Linked DNA regions of Homo sapiens: region 2 is linked to region 1. Evidence: promoter capture Hi-C in 16 types of primary human blood cells and fetal thymus (Javierre and others, 2016). All regions are on one chromosome and are shown on one strand. The core of a region is centred on a gene start or on the middle of the fragment in contact, and the rest is flanking DNA. Distances in the headings are between cores, read along the strand shown. Region 1 holds the start of LAT2 (linker for activation of T cells family member 2). Region 2 holds the start of GTF2I (general transcription factor IIi).

Region 1 (3,205 bases), core at 416-2,915:
CCTGGCTAACATGGCGAAACCCCGTCTCTACTAAAAATACAAAAAATTAGCCGGTCGTGGTGGCAGGCGCCTCTAGTCTCAGCTACTCGGGAGGCTGAGGCAGGAGAATGGCATGTACCCGGGAGGTGGAGCTTGCAGTGAGCCAAGATTGCACCACTGCACTCCCAGCCTGGGAGACAGAGCAAGACTGTCTCCAAAAAATAAAAAATAAATAAAAAATAAAAAATTAGCCAGGTGTGGTAGCACGTGCCTGTAGTCCCCAGCTACTTGGAAGGGTAAGGCAGGAGAACTGCTTGAACCTGGGAGGTGGAGGTTGCAGTGAGCCGAGATCACGCCACTGCACTCCAGCCTGGACAACAGAGTGAGACTCCGTTTAAAAAAATTCTGTGCTCTCTCTCTGTCTCTGTCTCCCTTTGTGTCTCTGTCTCGCTCTCACTTTCACTCTCCCATCCAGGTTCTGAAAGCAGGTGGGCTGAGGTGGAGGGAGCGGAGGGTGGACCCTCTGAGGCCCCCAGGGGCCGGCAGGGCTGGGCGGGGTGGGGAGTGGGGGCTGCCACAGACCACGGTTCTGCAGAGGCCAAAATAGCACTAAAGGGAAGTGGGCAGTTTTCATATGAACAACGATTGCCAAGAGCTGGCTTCGGGGAAGTTCTCGGGGCTGGGCTGGAGGAGCTACAGTGTCTGAATCCCGCCTGGAAGGACGCTCGAGACCACCCTGCCGGTTCTCCCAGCCTTCTCCGAGCTGAGCTGTGGTTGGGGACACTGGGGTTGGGGAGGGGGCAGCCTGGCTTGAAGCCCTGGATGGCTTTATCCACTGGACTCTGCTCTGGGGTCTGTTGGTTTTTTCATTTAGTTTTTAATTATATTTTTTTATTTTTATTTTTTAAAGAGATGGGAGTCTCACTATGTTGCTCAGGCTGGTCTCCAGCTCCTGACTTCAAATGATCCTCCCGCCTTGGCCTCCCCAAATGCTGGGATTACAGGTTGAGCCACCGTGCCCGGCTGGTCCTGTTGCTTTTTCCAAATAACTCTGGGCTTCAAATGAGCCTAGCTGGGAGGGAGAGAGGGAGGCGGGCGGGTGCAGGAGGGGCCTGAGCAGCCCTGGTCCCAGGGACAGAGTTGAGGGCCAGGTAGGGGGCTGGGCAGGGAGGCAGTGGGGGTTCTTCACCTGACCTGGGGCAAGACCTGGGCCCTGGCCTGTAATCCCACCGTTTTCCCCTGACCTGTGTAGGGGGTTACAGTCCCATTTCACGGATGAGGAAACCGAGGCTCCCAGGCCAGGGCAGCCACTGTTTTGGCTCTCGGCCACTTACTTCACCAGTCTCTGGCAATGATGGGACCACCCTGGGATGTCCCAAGGCTACACAGGCTGGACAGGGGAAGGCGAGGGCAAGAGAGTGGCCAGAAGCCCAGAAACAAACTGACCCCTGAAGTGCCACAGAGCCTGGTGCCAGGGTGAGAGTGGGGCTGCGGGAGGGGGCGCCAGGCATCCAGGCCTCTTCCCACCCCACCCAGTGGGGCCAGGAGCTCCTGGGGGATGGGGGACAGCCTGAGGACTGAGGCACCCCTGGGAAAGGCTTACCTGAGAGTCCAGGGTTCCTCACCACGGCCGCCCCATCCTGAGCCCGCACACCTGCCCAAGCTGATGCCAACACCACTGACACTGGCGGGCGGGCAGGGCGGGCTTCCTGCCAGCCACTGAATCATCCGTACATCCGCCGCACTGCCGGACAGGCTCAGCTATGAAGAGGGCGGTGGGGGGAAGGGAGGGGAGACGGGGGAAGGAGGCGGGAGAGAGAGAGAGAAGAGAAACAAAGTGAGAGGGAGAAAGAGAAGAAAGAGAGATAGGACCGGGCGAGGTGGCTCACACCTGTAATCCAAAAACTTTGGGAGGCCGAGGCGGGTGGATCACGTAAGGTCAAGAGTTTAAGACCAGCCTGGCCAACATGGTGAAACCCCGTCTCTATTAAAAATACAAAATTAGCTGGGCATGGTGGCATGTGTCTGTAATTCCAGCTACTCGGGAGGCTGAGGCAGGAGAATCGTTTGAACCTCAGAAGCAGAGGTTGCAGTGAGCCGAGATCGCACCACTGCACTCCAGCCTGGGTGACAGAGGGAGACTCCGTCTCAAAAAACAGAAAGAAAAAGAGAGAGACACAGCAGAGAGACACAAGAGAACAGGAAAATATGGACACACACTAAACACACACATAAACACAAAAAGTCACACAGAGAGGAAGAGAGATACACTCCAATAGACAGGGAGCAAGATAATGAAACTGAGGTGCTCCTGCAGATGGCAGATATGGAGACACACATACGCTAAAAAGACACACACAGGCAGAAATTCACACCCATGGGCCGGGCGCGGTGGCTCATGCCTGTAATCCCAGCACTTTGGGAGGCCAAGGCAGGCAGGTCATGAAGTCAGGGGTTCAAAACCAGCCTGACCAACATGGTGAAACCCCATATCTACCAAAAATACAAAAATTATCTGGGTGTGGTGGCGGGTGCCTGTAATCCCAGCTACTCGGGAGGCTGAGGCAGGAGAATTGCTTGAACCCAGGAGGTGGAGGTTGCAGTGAGCCAAGATAGCGCCACTGCACTCCAGCCTGGGTGACAGAGCAAGACTTCATCTCAAAAAAAAAAAAAAAAAGAAGAAGACACACACAGGCAGAAATTCATACCCATGGGCCAGGCACGGTGGCTCATGCCTGTAATCCCAACACTTTGGGAGGCTGAAGCAGGAGAATCACCTGAGGTCTGGAGTTCAAGACCAGCCTGGCCAACATGGTGAAACCCCATCTCTACAAAAAATTTAAAAATTAGCTGGGCATGAGATGGACCAAGACACACACAGAGAGACACACAGAAAGATACAGAGAGCCACAGACTGTCAGAGACACACACAGATGGGGAGAGAGCAAGAAACAGGGAGATAGAGGCCAGGTGCAGTGGCTTGCACCTGCAATCCTAACATTTTTGGAGGCTGAGGCAGGAGGATCGCTTGAGAACAGGAATTTGAGACCAGCCTGGACAACAGAACGAGACCCCATCTCTAAAAAAATTTTTTTAATTAGCTGGGTGTGGTGGCACACACCTGTAGTCCCAGTGTTTTGGGAGGCCAAAACGGGAGGATTTCTTGAGCCCAAGAGTTGGAGGCTGCAGTGAGCCGTGACTCTGCCACTGCACTCCAGCCTGGGGG
Region 2 (3,205 bases), core at 388-2,887, 450 kb before region 1:
TGAGGAGGCTGAGGCAGGAGGATCGCTGGAGCCCAGGTGTTGGAGGCTGCAATGTGCTATGATTGTGCCACTCTGCGCTTCAGCCAGGGCAACACAGAGAGACCCTGTTTCTAAAAAAAAAAAAGAAAATTAAGCCGAAAGCGATGGCTCACACCTGTAATCCCAGCACTATGGGGGGCCAAGGTGGGAGGATCGCTTGAGCCTAGGAGTTCAAGACCAGCCTGGGCAACAAAGTGAGAACGCATCTCCACAAATAATTTTTTTTAAAAAAAGGAGGTCAGTAGTCAGCAAGAGCTGCGCATCGCCAAGAGTGGACACTACTCCAACAGCACCCCACCTGTGAACATCCCCAGCCGCAAATCAGCGCAAATCCATAACCTAGGGAGGACAAAATTCGCTACACGAAAAAGCAAAAGCTGGATTAAGAAAAAGTGGAGAAGTCGGGGAGCGGGAAGGAGACAGCTTTTTCCATTTCATTTTCCTTCTTCCTCTGCACTCCCGTCGTCTGGGTGCTGGCTGAACCCAGACGGCTTAATTTTCATGGCCTAAAGCTGAAGTTTTCCTTCCGGTCATTGTGTTTATTTCCCCCAAAGAACAGGCCCCGCGGGGCAGGCGCGCCGGGCCGGCCCGGGACAAAGCCCACTGCGGACTCCACCTGGGAGCGGGGCGGGGCGGGGGACAGCGCTCCCGCTCCCCCGCCCGCCGCAGTTACCAGGCAACGCGCGGCCCCGCCCCCGCGCCGGTTGGCCAATCCCGCGCGTCTGCTGCCCCGGCGCAGGAGCCCCAGATACACCAGGCGAGCGCGACCCCACGACGGCTCGGGCCTGGCACCGCGCGCGCCCCCGCACCGCCTAGCCGGCCAATCAGCGCGGCGGGGCATGCGCAGCCCGCAGGGCCGCTCGCTCGCTCGCGCGCGGGATCGCACGCGCGAGGCGCCCCCCCACCGCACGCCGGTCGGCGCGCGCGCCCCTCCCCCACGCGCACTGAGGCGCGCGCGTGCCACTGTCGTCCCCCGCGACCGCGTCCGTGCCGCCCCACCCCCATCGCCTCGTTTCGGCCACTGCCAAGGCCGGCGGGGCTCGAGACCCGGCGAGGCGGTGGGGGTGGGGGTAGGGGGAGGCGGCACGGGCGCCCCCCAAGGCCCCACACCGCGCGCGGCGGGCCGCGGCTCCCAGGCCCCTGTCCCTGCAGGCCCCGGCGGGGCAAAGTCTCTAATAAAGGCCCCCGCTCGCAATGGCCCCCGAGGCGGGGGCGGGGGGCGCGGGGATGAGGCGAGAGGGACTCACCCGAGTGCGGCCGCCTCCAGGCAGCTCCGGGGCCGGGGGTGCCGAGGGGAGGCGAGTGTGGGCCGCGCGCGGGCTGCGGCCGCCGCGGAGCAGCCTCGGCTGAGGGGAGCTGGCGAGCGGACGGGAGGCGAGAGGGGGCGAGGGGCCCGTGCGTGTCGGTCGCGCTCCTGTCACCGCCGCATGGCCGCCCCGCAGGCAGGGCCTCGCTCAGCGCCTTGATCCGATCACTGGGGGACAGAGGCAGAGGCCGGGGTGACCGCGGCAGGCGGGCGGCCGCGGCTGGAGAGCGCGTGCGGGGAAGCGGGGGGGCGACCGGTGGCCCCTTTTCTCTGCTCTCCCAGCTTCTCTCTCACCCTCCTCCTCCTCCTCCTTTTTTTTTTCTTTTTTTTCTTTTTTTTTTTTTTTTTTTTTTTTTTTGTTCCTCGAAGGCGCGTTGCGCCTGCGCATCCGCAGCGCCGCCCAGCGGGAGTTGTAGTTTCGGATGCGTTCCCCGTCAACGCGGCGGCGGCGGTCGTGGACTACAACTCCCAGGAAGCACCGCGCCGGCTAGCCCCGAACCCGAGGACGAGGCAAGCGCGGCGCCCGGCCCTCTCCAGCAAGGGCTGTCAATGGAGGCGAGGGTGGTGGGAGCGAGAACATGGCTGCACCTGGGGCCTGCGCGGCCGCCCGGGTGGGGGAGGGGAGCCGGGGTGCAGAAACGGAAATCTGGACGGGTGGTGGCTCCGGCGTCGTCCCCACCGAGCGCCAGCCGCCGTCCAAGTCCGCCACTTGCTCTTGCACCCCACATTCCTTGCAAATTGCGAGGCAGGGAAGCTGCAAAAGCCGGGGAGCCCCGGGCTGGGCCGTCGCCCTCCTTGCTCTGCAAAAGGGGAGTCCTTCCGCCTTGCACCACCCTCCAGGACACAAAGAACTCCTCTCTAGTGTTTTCCAAGCTGGCCTCCAAAGAGACCGTTGCCCCCAAGTTCGGACAGGCGAGAGGGGAGGAGACCTTGTGTTTTAATTCCTCCCCCAGACCCTCCGCCTCTATCTCTCCCTCAGGATTTGGAAGGAAACTTGCAAGGGAGTGGGAGCAGAAATCCTGACTCGTAGCTCCTGTTTTGTTCTGTCAACCGCGATGCGATTTAACTCAAACTCCTCCCCCTACCACTATTTTTTGCTTCTCAACTTGAATTAGCCGGTGGGTTTTGAAAATGGAGAGACATTACTGTTCACCTAAGTTAAACTCCAAAACTTTACAACCCCGAGGCCGACGATTTTTAGATGTTTATGTAAAGCACGAGATTGAGTGGTTTTTTGATTCCCGCCCGCCCCCCCACCCAGTACCACCCACTGGGGATTCGGGCCACGACGGCCATCCTCCCCCCACCCGCCGCTTCTCGGTAGGTGGCGACCACGACGCTTTTTCCAGCCTCCAAGCCTTTGTCGCTAGCGAGAAAACTTTCCGAGCAGCCAGTCTTTTGATGTGGGTTCCAAAAACCTTTCCTTTCAATCTGGGTTCTCCGATTGGCATTCCCCATCGTCTCTCTTGCACAGACCGCACCCAATAAAGCCTCCTCTAGAATTTTCATGTTGGATTTTTTTTGAAAAATACATGGAGAGCGTAAAGCTCACCGGAGAAGCAATCTGATTACAGAAGCCTGAATTTTTGCGATTTCCCGGACAATGTCTAGGATCCCTTCGGTCCTTGCCTAATAAGATTGTGACTCTCCTTTGTCGATTGTCTCGAAAGTCATTCATTAAGTTTGCACAAGAGCAACTTTCTTTTTGCACTTGTATTTCATTGACATTTAGTAATATTTAATTAAATTCTCTATTCCCAATACCACGTGCCACTGGCATATATTTAGGAACAAATTTAACTCTTGAGAAGCCTATAACTCACTCTAGTAAGAGCAGCCAGCCTACGAGATGCAGATTTC

What was found. Contacts are between HindIII fragments. The CHiCAGO score rates a contact against its expected background, and 5 or more counts as called.
Region 2: the fragment with the promoter of GTF2I here is called in contact with the fragment with the promoter of LAT2 in region 1 in 1 of 17 cell types (neutrophils); the score reaches 6.5 in neutrophils.

Annotation. Positions count from the first base shown.
Region 1 is chr7:74,208,466-74,211,670 of GRCh38, reverse strand. It overlaps LAT2 (linker for activation of T cells family member 2), which reads right to left and starts at 1,665. Exons shown (of 14, transcript NM_032464.3): 1 at 1,583-1,665. RefSeq lists silencers at 542-631, 1,742-1,791 and enhancers at 732-851, 2,072-2,181. The HindIII fragment of the contact is 29,775 bases long and covers 1-3,205 here.
Region 2 is chr7:74,656,150-74,659,354 of GRCh38, reverse strand. GTF2I (general transcription factor IIi) reads right to left here and starts at 1,637. Exons shown (of 35, transcript NM_032999.4): 1 at 1,287-1,637. RefSeq lists silencers at 478-997, 1,068-1,357, 1,378-1,557, 1,928-2,087 and enhancers at 1,658-1,707, 1,728-1,847. The HindIII fragment of the contact is 31,155 bases long and covers 1-3,205 here.